Linked DNA regions of Homo sapiens: all the other regions are linked to region 7. The links are contacts of gene promoters, found by promoter capture Hi-C in blood cells and fetal thymus (Javierre and others, 2016). All regions are on one chromosome and are shown on one strand. Each heading gives the region's core, a stretch centred on a gene start or on the middle of the fragment in contact. The rest is flanking DNA. Distances are from core to core; before and after follow the strand shown. Region 1 holds the start of CCNE2 (cyclin E2). Region 2 has its middle 5.1 kb from the start of NDUFAF6. Region 3 has its middle 5.0 kb from the start of INTS8. Region 4 holds the start of LOC105375669 (a long non-coding RNA gene). Region 5 has its middle 5.2 kb from the start of RNF19A. Region 6 overlaps INTS8 (integrator complex subunit 8). Region 7 holds the start of MTDH (metadherin).

Region 1 (2,700 bases), core at 42-2,541, 2.7 Mb before region 7:
TTCTTGGTGACCTCCTCTCTTCTTTTTTTGACATCCTGGAAAATAGAAAAGACCATTGGTAAACTAAAGTCCCAGCATGGAATTTCGTTCCTCCCTCTTTCTCCTTAAATCACCTGGGTAGTTTTCCTCTTCTTGGCCTGGATTATCTGGGCTTCTTGGGGGGATTCCGTCTGGCTGGGCTGGGGCTGCTGCTTAGCTTGTAAACGGCTACTGTAGTGAATTTTTAAAAAGGAAGTGTAATTAGTAAGTTAAAGGCAGCAACTAATTTGAAACATGTCTCTAAGACAGATAATGTTACCTTCGTCTTGACATTCTCTTCTTTCAGGTGTATAAAACCTCTGAAGGGGGGAGAGGAAAAGCCGCAGTCAAGTACATTGTCATTCACATTCTCCAAGTGCCAGTAAGACGCTGATTCGCAGGTGAAAGCTCAGTCCCTCCGAAGGGGGCCTGGGCCCTGTGACCCTGCCATCTTCTGTGCTATGTTAGCTAGCTCATGGTAATTCATTTTGGATACAAGCCTGCATTTCCTCAACTGAATGTACAGCTGGAACGCGAGTGTCCAAAAATTTACCAAGCACTCCTGACACCTTGAACGCGCAGGGAGGCACATCTTCCTCAAACGGGTTTTTCTGGGTCCTCCACCCTCTCCCCCGTACACCGGGAGTGGGGCTTGGGCAGCGCCCCCACGTCCCGCCTCCCTCCTGGACCAGCGGGGAGAGGGGGTTGTGGAGGCGAAATGCTGTGGAGAAGCCGGTTCCGCGCCAATTTGGAGAGCGGCGGTGGCGGGGAAGCAGGGGGCGGAGGAACCAAGACTGGTGTCACGGCCTCCAGTCTCCTTTCCCTCCTTCCCGGCCCTGCCGCCCTACCGCCGCTCGGAGGGGCGCCGGGACCCCAACTCCAGATGGGAAGCGGAGGGCGTGGGGGAGGGCAGGAAAAGGAGCTAAAGAAAGGGGAGACTGGGCTGGCTGGGAACTTTTCTCCCCATGGAGGGGACCCGGCCTCCCATCCTCTCTCCCACGGGATAGCTCCCCAAATGAGGGTGGGATAGAGAAGCCCCTAGAATGAGGGGCGGCTCTCCATGCCCAGCCGCTTCCCGGTCCCCTGCCAAGGTTCCTGACAGGGACGGAACGCGGGAACCCATGACCCCCAGTCGTCTAGTTCTCAGCCCTCCCGATTTTCCTCCCTGAGGCTCCCGCCTGTGGTAAGTGATCGGCCCAACTGGGCTTTCTTTCCTCCCACATCCCCCCTACGCGCAGCAACTCCTCACCGCCAGACCAGCTACCGCTCGGCTCAGCTGGCGCCGGCGCCAACCCAATATATAGGCCGGGCCGGTCCCGCCCCGCACGCATGCGCCTCAGACTGACACCTCCGGACAGCGCGCTCCCCTCTCCCGCCCGTCCGCCCGCGTGCCCGCGCGCCGCGCCCTGCTCTCAGTGCGCGCCCGCCACCCGGAGCGGCCGTGGGGTCCACTCTACCGGGCCTTCTGCCCGCGTCCACCGCGCTCCACGGCGCGGCCGGCGGCGGTAGGGAAACTCTCAGGGGCTCCTTCTCCGCGGCTGTTCTCCCCGCCGCCTGGCTCGCGCATCTCCCGCCAGTTTGCTTTTGCTTCCTCCCACTGCAACTCCTGGATTTCGGGGGTGTCAGCCTGCGGCTCAGCCCGGGCGCATAACAGGGGGACACGACTCGGGCGACCATAGGGTGGCTGGGAAGTGACCGTCCAGGGGCGCGCCCTAGCTGTCCCGCCAAGGCCTCAGGGAACCCAGGTCTTTCCTGAGCGACGCGGGGACCCGAGGGCCCGCCCCTCGGGGAGGAGCAAAGCGTTGGCTGAAGAGCTGGCCAATGGGAGGCACGGGCGGCAGCACAACGTGGAGTGGCTGCAGAATGTAAACACCACTCAGCCACGCGCCTGGCCAAGTGCGGCTCTGCTCTCCCCAGTCCCGGTCCGCGACCACCCGGAGCCCGCTCCGCCGGCCTTGCGCGGCGCGCCCAGGGAAGGCATTTCCAGCCCGCCCACCCAGGTATGTATCAACCCTGCTTTCCGGCTCCCTGCTCCCCCTACCGGGTTTCCCTCCCCATGGGTCGGTCGCTCCCCCAACCCGCCGCTCTGCCCCTGCAGTGGCCTCCAGCTGCCACCCCGCAGTCCCCGCGCAGGAAACGCTCGCGCCACGCCGCGCCCTCCCTTGCTTCCTCTCTTCTCCACCTCCAATTCCGGGATCCCAGAGGGTAAAACCCCTCTCCGGAGCGGGGCCCGGGAACGGCATTCCTCCTCCCCCTGAGCGCGGTGGTCCCCGGGGACCTGGCCGGGTGGGAAGAAAGATCGCCACCACGTGCAGGCCCCGGGCCCGCCTGCCGCGCCCCGCCCCGCCGCCGCCGCCAGCGCGCCCTGCGGAGCCCGCGCGAGCCGGCAGCGCGGGAGGGCGCCGTTCGCGCCCGAGCGCTGTTGGGAGGAGGGGGGCCCGACGCTCTTCCTTTATCCTTCCCCGGGTGTTTAAACTTAGGGGTCCCTTCGCTGCCTCTATGAATGCCCCCACAACTGGCGCACCCCAAAACTGCACATCGTCAAGTCAGACTTGCGGCGGGTATTCCGCAAACAGGTTTTGCGGCGGGAGCAGCGAGGCGGGGAACAGCTCCGGGAACAAAGATCCCCCGGGTGGAGGAGCAGTGCGAAGGCGTCTCGGAACCCGCGGTAGCTCGGGCGGG
Region 2 (2,700 bases), core at 27-2,526, 2.6 Mb before region 7:
CAATCTGTTTTGTGGGGACAGACAAGAAAACATCTGAGAAGACAGGTGGGGGTGGGAAGAGGGGGTGTGCAACCCAGACATTGGGATAAAAACACAGGCATAAAGATGCCCATTAAACACAAATTGTATTGAACTGATTGAACTGATCTTGGTACATTAGTGGACAGCAACCAATTCAGGTGCCAAAAGAGAAATGAGAAAGAGAAGGAACAGGACAAGATGAAGAAAGAAGAAGAAATGACATCATAAGCCTTTAGGCTCCTAACCACTTCCCCCTACAATACACACAATGGGTGATGGGGTGATGATCACAGATATGCTATATTCCCTGGGTACTTGACTTAGGGGCTATGGCATAGGCAAGGTATTTGTGGTTTCTGGTACATAGCTGTAACTCCACCCATTTCTCTCCCATGTTGAAAATGACATTATCATCAGGATAACTTGGAGTCATCTCATATATATATTTACTTATTTATTTTGAGACAGAGTCTCGCTCTAGACCCTGGCTGGAGTGCGATGGCATGATCTTGGCTCACTGCAACCTCCACCTCTCAGCTTCAAGCGGTTCTCCTGCCTCAGCCTCCCAAGTAGCTGGGACTACAGGTTTGCGCCACCATGCCCAGTTAATTTTTGTATTTTTAGTAGAGACAGGGTTTTGCCATGTTGGCCAGGCTGTCTCAAACTCCTGGCCTCAAGTGATCTGCCTGCCTTGGCCTCCCAAAGTGCTGGGATTACAGGCGTGAGCCACTGCACCCCGCCTCATCTCTAATATATACACAAAGCAAACAATAGTATTTTCAAACTTTAGTTCTTTATTGTAATTAGAAACAACTTGTGCAGAGACAACCCACCATACCCATGTGACAACTATGACAAGTCTTGTCTGTGTCTTATGTAGGGGTCATCATCAATCTTCCTCTTCCTACATGTGATTTTGTATGCATTAAATCTATGGAACATTTCGCAGGTATGCCCCAGAATGGCTGATGGTCCATTTTTGGTAGGTGTGAAAAGATAAGAGAAAAAAAACCTAAAGAAATGACAGCTTTGGTATTGAAAAATTGGCAATATAAGATCATAGTGGAAACCAAAGAGTGAAATGAATAAAACTGCAATTGCATAACATAGTGACCACTTTGCCTCTTCTTGTTTCTGAGAGAACAGTGTGTAGGTGTCCTTTTAGCAAATGAAAAATATGCCACCTAATAGGTATTTGACATTGGCTAATTTTGTTAGTTTCTAGTGCCCCTTCCATACTACGTGTATAACCAGTACTAAATGCTCAAAAACTATTGAATTGATAGATGACTTTCTTTCAAATCTAAAATTGTACAATTCTATATTTTTTAAAAAAATGGTAATTGAGGGCCAGGCATGAAGGCTCATGCCTGTAATCCCAGCACTTTGGGAGGCCGAGGCAGGCAGATCGCCTGAGGTCAGGAGTTTGAGACCAGTCTGGCCAACATGGTGAAACCCTGTCTCTACTAAAAATACAAAAATTAGCTGGGTGTGGTGGTGGGTGCCTGTAATCCCAGCTACTTGGGAGGCTGAGGCAGGATAATTGCTTGAACCCGGGAGGTGGAAGTTGCAGTGAGCGGAGATCGCACCATTGCACTCCAGCCTGGGCGACAAGAGTGAAACTTTGTCTCAAAAAAACAAAGGTAATTGAGGATAAGTAAACTACCCAAAAAGCATGATGCATTCAAGTTCCTCTTTTTCATAGCTGCTGATAATAGGTTCCTTAAAATCAGATAACTGTAAGGCTTGACTATTAAACGAATAGTGGAAACCCTTCACAAGGGGAAATATTCCTTTCAACTTTGTATTTTCTTCATATTCTGCCCTTCTTAAACTTGCTGAGTCTGATTTGCTCTTTCAGTCACTAAGACTGCAAGCCTGTATGGTGCCTTGTTATAAATGAGAAGGTCCCCATCTGGGCTGAGGCAGCCCTGCAGGCACATGCCTCTCTGTGTGAAGAGAAAGGCTACCCTTCCTCTGAGCAGAGACAATGCCACACCAGCCCACACCAGCCCCTCTTGCTCCCTTAGCCAGGCATGTTTGTGCAGTGCACACACTGCATAACCTGGTGTCTTATTTCCGGTGCCAAAAAACTTGGCCTTCAGAACGATACACTAACACCTCCCAATGCCAGGCACTTGGCCAGGCACTGGAGATAAAAAGAGGAGTAAGAAAACATCTACCTTTGGCAGTCTGGGAAGAGGGCCATATAAGCAGATCACCACAGTAAGACCTGGCAAAGTGATCAAACATGAACACAAATTGTTATAGGATCAAAACTGGGGGAACAACTCTTTTTTTCTTGGATGGGGTTATGGTCAAGGAAAATTCAGGAAGGAAGAGGTGTTTAATTAGGTGTTTGGGGGATGAGTAGAGGTTCATGAAAGGGAAAAAGGGCATTAGAACTTTTGTGGTGACAAGGACAAACTTAGAGCTCTCCTCCTATAACCCCAAATCTCAGGAAAGCCTTGGGTTGCGGCTTACTTTGATTTAGGTCTTGAATCACACCATTTTTGTTGGGTTTGTCTTTCTACATGTCTTTTTGCCTTTGAAGTGATCCAGACAAGCTTAGCAGTGGGGTTTGTAAAAACAGTGTAATAAACATTGCCCATTTGCCAGGACTGTCCTCTGTGTAGCTCTCTTGGGAGTCTGTAGAGGCCGTAGGTGGCTGGTTAAAGG
Region 3 (2,700 bases), core at 124-2,623, 2.8 Mb before region 7:
GTGGTCCCAGCTACTCAGGAGGCTGAGGCAGAAGGATCACTTGAACCCAGGATGTCAAGGAGGCAGTGAGCTAAATGCCACTGCACTCCAGCCTGGGCAACAGAGAGATACCATCACAAAACAAACAAACAAAAACCAGAACGGGGTGCGGTGGCTCACGTCTGTAATCCCAGCACTTTGGGAGGCTGAGGCGGGTAGATCACCTGAGGTCAGGAGTTCGAGACCAGCCCGGTCGACATAGTGTAACCTGTCTCTACTAAAAATACAAAAATTAGCCAGGCATGGTGGCGTGCCTGTAATCCCAGCTACTCTGGAGGCTGAGGTAGGAGAATCACTTGAACCTGGGAGGTGGAGGTTGCAGCGAGCCAAGAGCGCACCATTGCACTCCAGCCTGGGCAACAGAGCAAGACTCTGTCTCAAAAAAAAAAAATACAGATAAAGTTGAAGTACCTGTGACCCCCCTCCCCCACTCCTTCCCCCCATTCACCTCTCCTCTCCCCTTCTCTAACCCACCCCTGTTCTATCCTCCTTCCCTCTTCTCTTCAGAGCCAAACACAGTAGGATTTTGATGTGCATGCCTCAATAAAATAGTTTCTCAGATTTTTTAGTCTCAGGGCCCTGTTAGACCAAAAAATTATTAAGCACTTAAAAGAGTGTTTGTTTATATTTACCATATTAAAAATTAACACTGAGAAGTTTTAAAAATATTTAATTTATTTAAATTAAAATAAAATAATCATATAAAAATAAAAATAATCCTATTACATGCTGACAAATACAATTTTATATAAAATAACTATTTTCATTTTAAAAACTAGAAGAGTGGCATTGCTCACATAGATGAGTAGTTAAAAAAAGAAGTATTTTATATCTTTTCGGATAATTATGGACTTTCTTCACCAAAACCTGAGAAAGTGGTTGTTTCTTAAAGATTAGCTGCAATTTTAAATCTGAAATCATACCAATTAACTTTTCAAATTCCGTTCCATTACAATTCATCAGTCTGTCTTGAAATTTTTTGTTTTGTTTTGTTTTGAGATGGAGTCTTGCTCTGTCGCCCAGGCTGGAGTACAGTGATGCGATTTCTGCTCACTGCAACCTCTGCCTCCCGGGTTCAAGCTATTCTCCTGCTTCAGACTCCTGAGTAGCTAGGATTACAGGCACCTGCCACCATGCCAGCTAATTTTTGTATTTTTAATAGAGACAGGGTTTGATCACGTTGGCCAGGCTGGTCCAAACTCCTGACCTCGTCATCCTCCCACCTCGGCCTCCCAAAGTGCTGGGATTACAGGCATGAGCCACCGTGCCCAGCTGAAATTTTTTATTTATTTACTTTTAAGAGGCAGGGTCTCGCTCTGTCACCCAGACTGGAGTACAGTGGCATGATCATAGCTCGCTGCAGTCTCCAACTCCTGGTTTCAAGTGATCATCCTGCCCCTGCCTCCCAAAGTGTTGGGATTACAGGCATGAGCCACTGTGCTCGGCTTGTCTTGGAATTTAAATAAATCTTTTAGCCATATATTAGGAAAATATTGATTGATTTGTCAAGTTGTGATGATCATCTGAAAGTTGACACATTTAAATATACATTTGTTAATATCGCCATTGGTGTCATCAGAAAAGTCTTGTCAAGTATTGGGAAGCTGCCAAGTTTACAGTTTTCTAAAATTCTAATTTTACTTAAAAAGTTGAATGTTGGCCAGGAGCGGTGGCTCATGTCTGTAATCCCAGCACTTTGGGAGGCCAAGGTGGGAGGATCACTTGAGGTCAGGAGTTCAAGACCAGTCTGGCCAACATGGTGAAACCCCATCTCTACTAAAAATAGAAAAATTAGCCAGGTGTGGTGGTGGCAGTGCCTGTAATCCCAGCTATTCGGGAGGCTGAGGCAGGAGAATCGCTTGAACCTGAGAGGTGGAGGTTGCAGTGAGCGGTGATAGCACCATTGCACTCCAGCCTGGGCAGCAAGAGCAAAACTCCATCTCAAAAAAAAAAAAAAAAAATTGAATGTTATTATTCGCCACAAATGGTGTTAGTTGTTTTCCATAAAGTGACATGACAGGCTCACTTTGTTCAAGAAAATGTCTGCTAAATACCCAAGTCTGAATGACCACAGTCTGTTCTCATTCTTTCTTTCTTTTCTTTTTTTTTTTTTTTTTGAGACAGGGTCTCACTCTGTCACCCACCTGAGTGCAGTGGTGCAATCTCGGCTCACTGTAGCCTCATCCTCTTGGGCTCAAGCAATCCTCCCACCTCAGTTTCCCACATAGCCAGGACTACAGACGCACACCACCATCCCAGCCTTATTTTTTATTTTGATTTTTTTGTAGAGACAGAAGTCTCACTATGCTGCCCAGATACGTCTTGAATTCCTGGACTCTCCACCTCAGCCTCCCAAAGTGCTGGGATTACAGGCGTGAGCCACTGCACTCGGCCAGTTTCTGTTGTTTTAAACCACAAAGTTTGTGGTAATTTGTTACAGCAGCCACTTGAAACAGATACAATGAGTATGTCACATTTTATTTGTCTATTCACCAGGTTATAGACCTTGGTTTCTACTTTTAGGCTACTGTAGATACTGCTGTTCTAAACATTCAAGTCTTTGTGTGGGTACATTTTCTCCTTTCTCTTGGATACATACCTAGAAGGGGAATTGCTGAGTCATCTGGTAAGCCTATTTTTAACATTTTTTTTTTTTTGAGA
Region 4 (2,700 bases), core at 143-2,642, 2.6 Mb after region 7:
AGAAACAGGGTTTTGCCATGTTGGCCAGGCTAGTCTTGAACTCCTGGCCTCAAGTGGTCTGCCAACCTTGGCCTCCCAAAGTTCTGGGATTACATACAGGCTTGAGCCACCGTGCCTGGCCAGTTCTCTGCTTTTTCTTATCTTTGCTACTCTCACAGTCTTGAAATTGGAAGATTTTTTAGGGTCTTAACTGTGTTACCTTGAATAGATAGCCTCTTTTGTAAGCTCTGCTTCAAAAGTTCTCTGTGCTTATTTTTATACATGGGTGGTTTTTTTCCTTAATGGAATTTCCATTCATAAGTTCATATTCATTTTCAGGATTGTAGTTAAAGAAATAAATTTACTGGGCAGAAAGTGCTAAAAATTAATACAGCATCTCATCAGTTTTAGATCCCAAGCTTGGCTTAAGGCCATCTTGAATAGATAAATGGCACCTTGGTCATTGGAAGTCTTCTGTGAAGTGAAGGTAGTCACATGGTTGTGACTCTGCTCATAGAGTTAATATTACCTAAACATTAAACTAAGCTAAATTTAAGGCAGTGGTACAGGTGACAGATCCTGATGCCCACAGATCTATTTTCTAGTGTTGAAATATGTTTACTTGATTTTAATTTTATATTTTAAATAACATTTACTGTTTTAAAAAACCACTTACCTATTATAGAAAACTTAAGAAAAAACTAGCACAGCACAAAGACTATCATTAAAATCACTCACAATCCTAACACCTAGGCAGAGTGAAATTGGTTATTTTTTCAGAGAAGTGAAGCAGATTAGGTTTAACAGCATTTCTAGAGTAACTTCTATGATATGCCAGAAGGGCTCCCACAAGTGCAGCTGAGTATCTGTATGATGTGGTCTGAGTGGCAAATGACTCAAGAGTTCCTTCATTTGCAGTGTTTGTATGTGTACTGCGGTAGGCAGAGTGTAGGCTTTTGAGGGCTCACAGAGAAGTTTGCTGAGTGCCTCTCATGACCCAGGTGATCTAGGACTGGGAATATAGTGGTGCTCAGGACAGGCAATGCCAATTGCCTTCCTGAAGCTCACATTAGAAAGAACTGACCTGTGGGCATGTCACTCCTCATGTTTCTGTTTCTTCACCCACATAATGAACATATTAATATTTACCTGACAGGTTTGTTGTGAGATTAGATGGGGAAGTCTACAGTGACTAGCACATAGCAGATACTCTGTCAATGTTTCCTCATTGCTGAATCATTGTAGACAGGAATAGACAGCAGATTTCTAAGAGTATCGGAAAAACAGCAAGTTAAAGAAAGCAGCCCTTGCTCATGCTTTCCTGGAAAGTTAAATACTTGTTATATTAACTGTTTATAGCATGAGTTGAAAGAATAAATCCACCATCTTCAATGTGGACAGTCTGGTGCAGATGTTAGTTAGGTTATATAGAAAGGAGGCTCTTCATAGGATCTCTGCATGGAGGACTTCTTTGCAGCTTCTGTTGATTTTGTTAAAACCAAGAGTACTATAGTTTTCATTCATAAATACAGATTTGTGATTCCTTAACCAAAGGCTCTGCGCTGCCTTTTGACTTAACATATTTTCAGTTTACCATGGGATTATTGGGACATAACCATATTGTAAATCGAGGATTATATGTACAGTTTTTTTATTGTTTTACTTCAGAATATAATGAAGTACGTTAAATGCTGAAGTAGCTTTAAACACTTCAAACAAAACCAAAAAACACAACCATGAGATACATCTTTAGTGATATTGGAAACACTTCATAGACTAAAACGTGCAAGATGAAAATTCATAACTTAGAAGAAATCATTGTAGGTTTAGTTCCTTGATTCCCCTTTGGTCTGTTTTTGAAGCCCTTTTGCAGCAAGTGAATCATAATGAACTAATAAGTTTTAGAGTGCCGATTTTCAAAATGTGATGCAACTTTTATGGTTCTGTACTTTATTATTAAATACATAGGTGCAAATAAGAATTTTCATTTTAATCTGTCAACGACAATCTGTTGAAACCCTGCTGTGTGCCTTGTGCCATGCTGCTCTGTTAGGGGACTGGGGAGGCCAGGACATGCTGCCAGGGAGCTCCCGGCTCAGTGGGAAAGAGTAAATGCAGAGTGCTTTGCTACTGGTTTAAAAGAAAGGAACACAAATATGATTGCTTTCTTACTCTGGGTTTGCCTTTCTGGCATGTTGCCTGGTTCCCAAGACGAAGTCTCGGATGTGTACATATTTGAGAGTTCAGTACTGCAGTATCTATTCAGTGAAGTATAAACGAAAGAGCATTTTTCAAAACAAATGGTATGTAATATTTTTGTCTTCTTTAGGGCTCTGGAACTTCATCCATTCTCTATGAAACCTCTTCTGAGGCGGGCGATGGCCTATGAAACTCTAGAGCAGTATGGGAAAGCTTATGTGGATTATAAAACAGTGTTGCAGATAGACTGTGGACTCCAGCTAGCAAATGACAGTGTTAACAGGTAATTAATCTGAGGCAGCTACCTAAAATCTAGTTGTTTTATACTGTTTTTCCCTTCCCCTCCTTCAAGAACATGTCAAAATATAGATGTGTTATCAGTTACTTTTATCACCTGAATGATTGCCTTCTTTTATTCCATTACATCAAATGGTTCTCTCCCTTAACTTAATTTCTGACTCTCCCTTAATTAATTCTGACTTGTCCTCTAATGCCTTTGTATTTGTTTTCTGATCCATTTAT
Region 5 (2,700 bases), core at 112-2,611, 2.7 Mb after region 7:
TTGAACCAAGGTGGAGACTGTGGAGACAGAAGTGGATGGTTTTGGTTTTGGTTTTGGTTTTAGAGGTATAATCAGTCATACTTGCATGGAATGGAATAAAAGTGGCAAGTAAAGAGAAAGAGAACTACTTTTTTTTTGAGACAGAGTCTTACTCTGTCACCCAGTGGCTCAATATTGGCTCATTGCAACCTCCACCTCCTGGGCTTAAACAATCTTCCCCCCTCAGCCTCATGAGTAGCTGGGACTTCAGGCACATGCCACCATGCCTGGCTAATTTTTGTATTTTTTGTAGAGACGAGGTTTTGCCATGTCGCTCAGGTGGGTCTTGAACTCCTGGGCTTAAGTAATCTGCCCAGCTCAGCCTTACAAAGTGCTGGGATTGCAGGCATGAGCCACGTGCCCAGCCGAGAACTACTCTTTATTGCATACATACTATATATACTATATATAGTACACTATATGTTCACTTTATTGAGTACACATACTATATATACTTTTTATTGAGTACATATACTATATGACAGGCACTATTCTGATTGCTTTATAAGTATTAAGCCACTTAGTTTATCATCAAGAATCCCTAAAGCTCCCAAATTAGGATCTGAGGCACAAGAGTTTAAGTAATTTGCTGAAAGTTACGTAGCTAAGTGGCAGAGCTGGGATTTGGACCATCCGGCAGGCTGGCTCCAGAGCTCATGCTCTTCTCTTAAACCTACCCCTGGCCCCTTCCCTGGTGTCACAGCCTAAGTGAACATTTCTTTAGCCACAGTAAGGTACTAGCAGTACCACAAATCCCCCCATCCTTTCCTGTCTTCCTTCTCTTCTCTTTCTCACACACCCTGCTAACTTTCTTTCTCTTTGTAGGTACTACCTAGCTTTGCAGATGCTACTATGCCTAAAATGCCCCCTCCCCTCTCCTCTGCCTGGCTCATTTCTATCAACTCTCACTGGTCCTGACAGGCTAAATCAAGCTCACATTCCCTAGCTCCACAACAACCATGCTTACCTCTATAATTTTTCTGTATAAAGTACTTCATTGTCATTATTTGTAGGCCTTTCCCACTAAACTTTGAAGGTAGAGAACTTAATGCCTGACACCTAGTGAGAGAAAGAGGAAGCAGGCACAGAAGCTTAGCTATGCACATGACATGCCTTCCCTAGGTGCTGCGAGACACCAATATGGTAAAGTATCGTCCCTCCCCTTGAGCAGCTTGTAAACTTGCCAGGGAAACTGACATCGAGAAAATCACTCTAGGCCAGTGTGCTGGCACATGCCTGTAATCCCAGCACTTTGGGAGGCTGAGGCAAGCAGATGATTTGGGCCTAGGCAACATGACAAAACCCATCTCTAGGAGTTTTGTCGTGTGCCCAGGCATGGTGGCACACACCTGTAGTCCGAGCTACTCAGGAGGCTAAGGTGAAAGGATCACTTAAGCCTGGGAGTTGTAGGGTGCAGTGAGCCAAGATCACACCACTGCACTCCAGCCTGGATGATCTATGTATACTCACTCTAATATAAGAGCCAATAAAGTACATATGATATAGACACAGGACAAGGTACCATTAATTGTGCTTCAGGACATCAAAGGCAAGAAGCTTGGCCTTATGTTTGTTTCACTGGGGGGGAAAAATGCAACCAGGAATGAATGGGAGCTTGGGGGCTTTAGTCTCCACCATCATTTCACCTGGCTTAGGGAGGCAGTCTGGGGCCTTGTCCAGGGAGAAAGAGATTCTCTTTCAGCACAATTGATCATTGGAATGTGCTACTTCTTGACTCTCCTCCTTACCTGTCCTTATGTGACTAAATATACTGATTTCCAAATTGATTCAGTTTCTTTCCCAGCAGGGTCATGGAAATTTTTCTTCTTCGTCGTCTTGTTGTTGTTGTTGTTGTTGAGACAAGGTCTCACTCTGTTGTCCAGGTGGGAGTGCAGTGGTGCAGTGCGATCACCTTGACCTCTTGGACTCAAGCGATCCTCCCACCTCAGCCTCCTGAGTAGCTGGGACTACAGGTGTGTGGCACCATGCCTGGCTAATCTTGCTTGTTAAAATAGATTTCTGAGTTTCATATCAGACTAACAGACTCATTTTCTATGGGGTTGGGGTGCTAGAATCTAGTTTTCCACAAGCTCTCCAGGTAATTCATATCACATGTTTGAGAACCACAGCATAAGTGTGGCTGGAATTGGTGGGTTCTTGGTCTCACTGACTTCAAGAATGAAGCCGTGGACCCTTGCGGTGAGTGTTACAGCTTTTAAGGTGGCGCATCTGGAGTTTGTCCCTTCTGATGGTCAGATGTGTTCGGAGTTTCTTCTTTCTGGTGGGTTCGTGGTCTCGCTGGCTCAGGAGTAAAGCTGCAGACCTTCGCGGTGAGTGTTACAGCTCTTAAGACGGCGTGTCTGGAGTTGTTCCTTCCTCCCAGTGGGCTTGTGGTCTCGCTGGCTCAGGAGTGAAGCAGCAGACCTTCGCGGTGAGTGTTACAGCTCATAAAAGCAGCGTGGACCCAAAGGGTGAGCAGTAGCAAGATTTACTGCAAAGAGCGAAAGAACGAAGCTTCCACAGTGTGGAAGGGGACCCCAGTGGGTTGCCACTGCTGTCCCGGGCAGCCTGCTTTTAGTCTCTTATCTGGCCCCACCCACATCCTGCTGATTGGTAGAGCCAAGTGGTCTGTTTTGACAGGGTGCTGATTGGTGCCTTTAC
Region 6 (2,700 bases), core at 52-2,551, 2.8 Mb before region 7:
GCACACATTTTTTTCTTTCTTGTCCTTCCTTTGATTTTGGTGTCAAGGTCATGCTTGCCTTATAAATAAGTTGAGGCATCTGTCTTTTTTATTGTCTGGAAAAGTTTGTGTAAAAATGAAGTCATTGCTTCTTTCAGTGTTGGGTAGAATTTACCAGTAAAGTCTGGGCCTGGGTAATTTTTTTGTGGGAAGGTTTTTGATCAGTGATCATAGAACTATATTCTCGTTTTTCTAGAGTTAGTTTTAAGAAGTTATTTTCTAAGGATTTGTCCATTTCATCTTAAGTTTATTAGTATTAAAATTTATTATTTTAATATTAAAGCATCTACAGAGATGCCCACTAGTTTGAGTTTTTCTTTTTTTAAATTGAAGTGCATGAAATTCACATAACATGATCTGTTAGGTTTGCTTATTAGAAGTTACATGTTCCCTACATTGTTCCATGACACATGTACAAAGCTTCTCACTATGTGAATAAATAATCTGTTGTAAAAGGAGACTCAGATATTTATTACTCACCATAAGATATTTACATATGGCAGCAAAGAAACAAAGTTATTAGAATGTAAGTGTATAATACATACTCCAAGATGCTCAGATGTTATTTACTGATAGGTTAATTTGTTAATCAGAAAATGGTATTTGAACATAGCACTTTTAAAACACTGCTTTTTTTTTTTTTGAGATGGAGTCTCTCTCTGTTTCCCAGGCTAGAGTGCAGTGGCCTGATCTCCACTCACTCTAACCTCTGCCTCCTGGGTTGAAGTGATTCTCCTGCCTCAGCCTCCCCAAGTAGCTGGGACTACAGGCCCGTGTCACCATGCCCACGTAATTTTTTTTGTATTTTTAGTAGAGACGAGGTTTCACCATGTTGGCCAGGCTGATCTGGAACTCTTGACCTCAGGTGATCCACCTGTCTCAGCCTCCCAAAGTGCTGGGATTAGAGGCAGGAGCCACCGCACCAAGCCTGTTTTTTTAATAACAGTTTCATCAAGATATAATTCACATACCATACAGTTCACGCATTTAAAGTGTATAAGTCAGTGCGTTTTAGTGTATTCCTAGAGTTGTGCAGCTATCACTTCACTTCCTTTTTTCACTCCAAAAAGATAATCTCTTATTCATTACCTGTCACTCTTCATTTTCCCTCAATCTCGCACCACCTGAGGCAACTACTAATCTAATTTCTCTATAGATTTATCTGTTCTGGATATTTTATGTAAATGGAACTATGAAATAGATGATCTTTTGTAACTGGCTTCTTAGCACGTTTTCAATATTGTAGCATGTATCAGTACTTCACTTTTTATGGCTGAATAATACTTAATTGAATGGATATATACTGTATTTTGTGTGTTTATTCATCAGTTGGTAGACTGCAGGTTACTTATACTTTTTGGCTACTATGATTAATACTACTATGAACATTCTATTTTGTGTGTGTGTCAACGTAAAAAATATTTAGCAATTTCTTGAGATTATGGACTTTTACACTAGTTATATTTTATTTTGGCTTCTTATAAATAATATATTAGGAGGAATCCTAATCTAATGAATAAATTCAACATAATATGAAAATATTATTTGTAGATAACTAATATGACCATAACTAGTTTCTATTCTTTGTTTGCATTGTTTACTTTTTAAACCTTGGTTACCTTTTTAACTATTCATGAATAGCTCATGAATATAGAACCATTAGTTCTATATTCATGATAAATCACTTACTCTTTTCAATTATTTTCTTTTTGGTTTTAAAAATTTTTTATTTTTTTAACTCTTTTCTGACAGGAGCTACTGATTTCTATGGTTTATCACTTAATATAATTTGGCAACATAGTTGATAAATTCTGTGAGAACTGTATAGCATGGTAACTAGGTTATTCTTTGCTACATGTATACACCTGCACTTATTAAAATGGTCACATTCCATTCCCTCTTTGTGATGGATTGTTATTCCTTGGTCTGGTCTCTTCTGTTAAGTTACTTAACTAAATCTGTGATTGGTACATTGTTGAAAAAGGAAAATTCAGTTGTTTTTAAATCCAGCCTTTTCAAATTATAATTTACATTTTTATAAGTACCCATATTCAAATGAAAATTACTCAAATTCCTAGGTATGTTCAAGATCAGTAAATTTAGAAAAAGCTTCAGAGTCTTTGAAAGGAAACATGGCTGCTTTTCTAAAGTAAGTACCTTTCTTTTCTTTTTTCTTTTTTTTTTTAACTTTGAACTTAGTCCTGTGAACAAAATATCTGTATTATCTTTTGTTTTTGTCTTGGGTATCTTTTAACCAGGCAGTAACTGGTGTTTGAGAACCCATTAAGTTCAAATTTGTATAGCCACGTGAGACATTAGGATTATATAGTTACCTTTTTTTAATATTGTGGCATTGACATCACAATTTTAAATAAGGACCAAAGGGAAATTTTAAAATCTATTTTAAAATATCATTATACAGTTTATGTAATGGTGGCTTTTTAAATGGCTTATTAAAATTGGTTGATATGATTGTTTTTCTCAAACTAAATTATACACTTTTTTGTTTTACAATATTTCTTACTGATCTAGGAATGTGTGTCTGGGGTTGGAAGATCTGCAGTATGTTTTCATGATTTCTTCACATGAGCTTTTCATTACATTGTTGAAAGATGAAGAACGAAAGCTACTTGTTGATCAGATGAGGAAGAGATCCCCTAG
Region 7 (2,700 bases), core at 92-2,591:
CTGTATTCCTTGAGAAAGCCTGTATTTAGTTCACTTAAGACAGTTGCTTACACGCTAATGATCATTTACCGATAAAATACAGAGTTTCCTTATAGCAAAATATAATCTTAAAACCCTAAGGCAGCCTTCAAGCATTTCCCTTATAATTAAAACCTGAAGGCCTGGCGTGGTGGCTCACGCCTGTAATCCCAGCACTTTGGGAGGCTGAGGTGGGCGGATCACGAGGTCAGGAGATCAAGACCATCCTGGCTAACACGGTGAAACCCCGTCTCTACTAAAAATACAAAAAATTAGCCGGGCGTGGTGGTGGGTGCCTATAGTCCCAGCTGCTCGGGAGGCTGAGGCAGGAGAATGGCTTGAACCCAGGAGGCGGACCTTGCAGTGAGCGGAGATAGTGCCACTGCACTCCAGCCCGGGCGACAGAGCGAGACTCTTGTCTCAAAAAAAAAAAATTTGAAAAGGCAGTTCGTTTCCTTCTATAGCTGCATCCCAGAGATGGTCAACATAGCATATAAAAATGGAATTTTTGCAAACCCCTTTTGCAGTGTTGTAGAAAAGCTTAAAATAAAACGTAACGAGAAAGCTCCCTCCATAAGTAAATACAATCTAATGTGCTTCCCCTTATGTGTTATTAAAGCTACAAATTAGTAGGAAAAGAATAGTGCCGCCCACGGGCTTTCCAACTTTTGAATTCTGGGGACTAACAACAGAGAGCAAGAGTGAATGAGCCAAACGACGCAAACGTGCCCTCGCCAGGCTGGCAACTGGTAGGCACGCAGTGTATTAGTTGCCCTGGAGAGAAACACCCTGGAGAGAAATACCCAATTTGTGAACTAAACCTAGGTCCCGGAAGAACAGTGTTCGGCGTCAGACTCCGTTGAGCTCATTCTGGAAGGATCCAACTGGCGCCACCAGGGAGAAAAAGCGATTCCACCTCAATAACACTCCAGAAAAAGGCATGAAGAGCCCTATACCTGCCAGGGCGACTTTGACCTAGACCCGGTGACCCGGTTCCTAGCGCTGCAGCCCTACCCGCCCCCCGCCCGCCCCCGCCTTGCACGGAGCCCCTCCTCTGTACTCATTCGTTGCGCCACGTCTCCTAACTCTGCGCCACCAGCCACCCCGCGAAGGCGTCCACCAATTAACCCCTCCCAGCTTCTGGTCTACAGTAACGGGTCCCCAACGCCGCGTCTTAACCAGGCCCGAACCGACCACCGCCAACCTTCCCTGACACGCCTTTGCCCCACCCGACCCCGCCCGCCCCCACGTGACGCCCACGCCCCGCCCACTGGCGCCCACGTGACCCACGGTCGTCCCCGCGCGCGGCGTGGATCGCGGCCCAAGCCGCCATTGTTCCGCCGAGGGAGGACAGCGGGGCCTGGCGCTGGCGCCGAGACGCCGCTTAGCGGCCGCCACTGGAGACACTCCCTCCCGCCTCCCGGGTCTCCTGGCGGCGGCGGAGTGAGGCTGACAGCGGGGAACCTGGGAGACCCCTCCGCCCTCCCCGCGGTGGCAGCGGCCGATCCCCGGCTCCGGCGCGAGGGACGGCCGCGATGCGCTCGGCCTGAGGTTACCCGGCCCGGCCCTTCCTCGCTTCCCTCGACTATTCCACTGCGTCTCCGCGCCCCGGCGTCATCCTGCGAGTCCCTCTGACGGGAGGGAAGATGGCTGCACGGAGCTGGCAGGACGAGCTGGCCCAGCAGGCCGAGGAGGGCTCGGCCCGGCTGCGGGAAATGCTCTCGGTCGGCCTAGGCTTTCTGCGCACCGAGCTGGGCCTCGACCTGGGGCTGGAGCCGAAACGGTACCCCGGCTGGGTGATCCTGGTGGGCACTGGCGCGCTCGGGCTGCTGCTGCTGTTTCTGCTGGGCTACGGCTGGGCCGCGGCTTGCGCCGGCGCCCGCAAAAAGCGGAGGAGCCCGCCCCGCAAGCGGGAGGAGGCGGCGGCCGTGCCGGCCGCGGCCCCCGACGACCTGGCCTTGCTGAAGAATCTCCGGAGCGAGGAACAGAAGAAGAAGAACCGGAAGAAACTGTCCGAGAAGCCCAAAGTGAGTATGGGATGAGCGGCAGTAGAGAACGGGCGAAGGGCGGGCGTGGAGACCCTCGAGCTTGGGGGAGGCCGCGCCCCAGCCGGGAAGGAAAAGAGTGCTTAGTCGAAAGCCGAGAGGCAGCACTCCCAAGTGGAGGAGGAGGTGATAGGTGGTCATGTTATTTGGGGAATGGGGGGAACTCAGGAAGTATAGGACGAGTGGGGAAGCCCAGTTTCGAGGAAGGAAGTTAGGAGGTCTGGGGGTCCGTTCAGATAGGCGCCCAGAGGTCAAGCCATCTTTGGGAACCGTCACCGCTAGAATAAGCACAGCATCCTTCCTTGAGGCCTGCAGAGTAGGCTGCATGTGGAGCGTAATGGGACCTTAAGGTGGTGTTAGGAAGTTGTATAAAGACTGCGCTCGGAAGACAGATGTCTATCTCAAGTCACATTGAGACAGTAGGCAGTGGAAGAAGTGCGGTGACCTAGAAATTCTGGGGCTTACACAGGATTAAAGGTGTCCAGGTCTAGACGCGCTTCCATTTTAGTTGGGACTGTTAAAGGGAAATGGTTGCCCATTCTTGTTCTGGCAAATGTGGCCAACAGAGGCCGGAACGGGAGCAAGGCAAGAGGGGGTCGGTTACCTAATACGCTTTGAGGTGTATGGTCCTGTGAGA

The links. Contacts are between HindIII fragments. The CHiCAGO score rates a contact against its expected background, and 5 or more counts as called.
Region 1: the fragment with the promoter of CCNE2 here is called in contact with the fragment with the promoter of MTDH in region 7 in 4 of 17 cell types (fetal thymus, total B cells, activated CD4 T cells and 1 more); the score reaches 14.9 in fetal thymus.
Region 2: a fragment that was not itself captured here is called in contact with the fragment with the promoter of MTDH in region 7 in 1 of 17 cell types (naive CD8 T cells); the score reaches 8.8 in naive CD8 T cells.
Region 3: a fragment that was not itself captured here is called in contact with the fragment with the promoter of MTDH in region 7 in 1 of 17 cell types (non-activated CD4 T cells); the score reaches 5.6 in non-activated CD4 T cells.
Region 4: a fragment that was not itself captured here is called in contact with the fragment with the promoter of MTDH in region 7 in 1 of 17 cell types (fetal thymus); the score reaches 7.5 in fetal thymus.
Region 5: a contact is called between a fragment that was not itself captured here and the fragment with the promoter of MTDH in region 7, in 1 of 17 cell types (fetal thymus). The highest score is 5.8, in fetal thymus.
Region 6: a fragment that was not itself captured here is called in contact with the fragment with the promoter of MTDH in region 7 in 1 of 17 cell types (total CD4 T cells); the score reaches 5.0 in total CD4 T cells.

The regions. Positions count from the first base shown.
Region 1 is chr8:94,893,910-94,896,609 of GRCh38, forward strand. It overlaps CCNE2 (cyclin E2), which reads right to left and starts at 1,292. Exons shown (of 12, transcript NM_057749.3): 1 at 1,268-1,292; 2 at 299-338; 3 at 114-210; 4 at 1-35. The coding sequence starts at 312. It also overlaps a transcript of NDUFAF6 not described here. RefSeq lists an enhancer at 104-665 and silencers at 1,282-1,501, 1,882-1,981, 2,112-2,161, 2,332-2,381, 2,662-2,700. The HindIII fragment of the contact is 5,265 bases long and covers 1-2,700 here.
Region 2 is chr8:95,018,548-95,021,247 of GRCh38, forward strand. It overlaps a transcript of NDUFAF6 not described here. Among named protein-coding and RNA genes, the nearest start is that of NDUFAF6, 5.1 kb to the right of the region's middle. The HindIII fragment of the contact is 2,619 bases long and covers 1-2,586 here.
Region 3 is chr8:94,816,913-94,819,612 of GRCh38, forward strand. No RefSeq gene overlaps it. Among named protein-coding and RNA genes, the nearest start is that of INTS8, 5.0 kb to the right of the region's middle. The HindIII fragment of the contact is 7,350 bases long and covers 1-2,700 here.
Region 4 is chr8:100,217,971-100,220,670 of GRCh38, forward strand. It overlaps SPAG1 (sperm associated antigen 1), which reads left to right. Exons shown (of 19, transcript NM_003114.5): 13 at 2,309-2,461. LOC105375669 (a long non-coding RNA gene) reads right to left here and starts at 2,313. Exons shown (of 3, transcript XR_928450.3): 1 at 1,129-2,313. The HindIII fragment of the contact is 1,993 bases long and covers 397-2,389 here.
Region 5 is chr8:100,313,775-100,316,474 of GRCh38, forward strand. It overlaps a transcript of RNF19A not described here. Among named protein-coding and RNA genes, the nearest start is that of RNF19A, 5.2 kb to the left of the region's middle. RefSeq lists enhancers at 1-116, 2,300-2,359, 2,380-2,439. The HindIII fragment of the contact is 466 bases long and covers 1,129-1,594 here.
Region 6 is chr8:94,847,345-94,850,044 of GRCh38, forward strand. It overlaps INTS8 (integrator complex subunit 8), which reads left to right. Exons shown (of 27, transcript NM_017864.4): 11 at 2,118-2,188; 12 at 2,572-2,700. Among named protein-coding and RNA genes, the nearest start is that of INTS8, 25 kb to the left of the region's middle. The HindIII fragment of the contact is 1,689 bases long and covers 458-2,146 here.
Region 7 is chr8:97,642,843-97,645,542 of GRCh38, forward strand. It overlaps MTDH (metadherin), which reads left to right and starts at 1,342. Exons shown (of 12, transcript NM_178812.4): 1 at 1,342-2,045. The coding sequence starts at 1,665. RefSeq lists silencers at 930-1,039, 1,220-1,679, 1,950-2,019, 2,303-2,471 and enhancers at 1,192-2,172, 2,173-2,700. The HindIII fragment of the contact is 3,502 bases long and covers 557-2,700 here.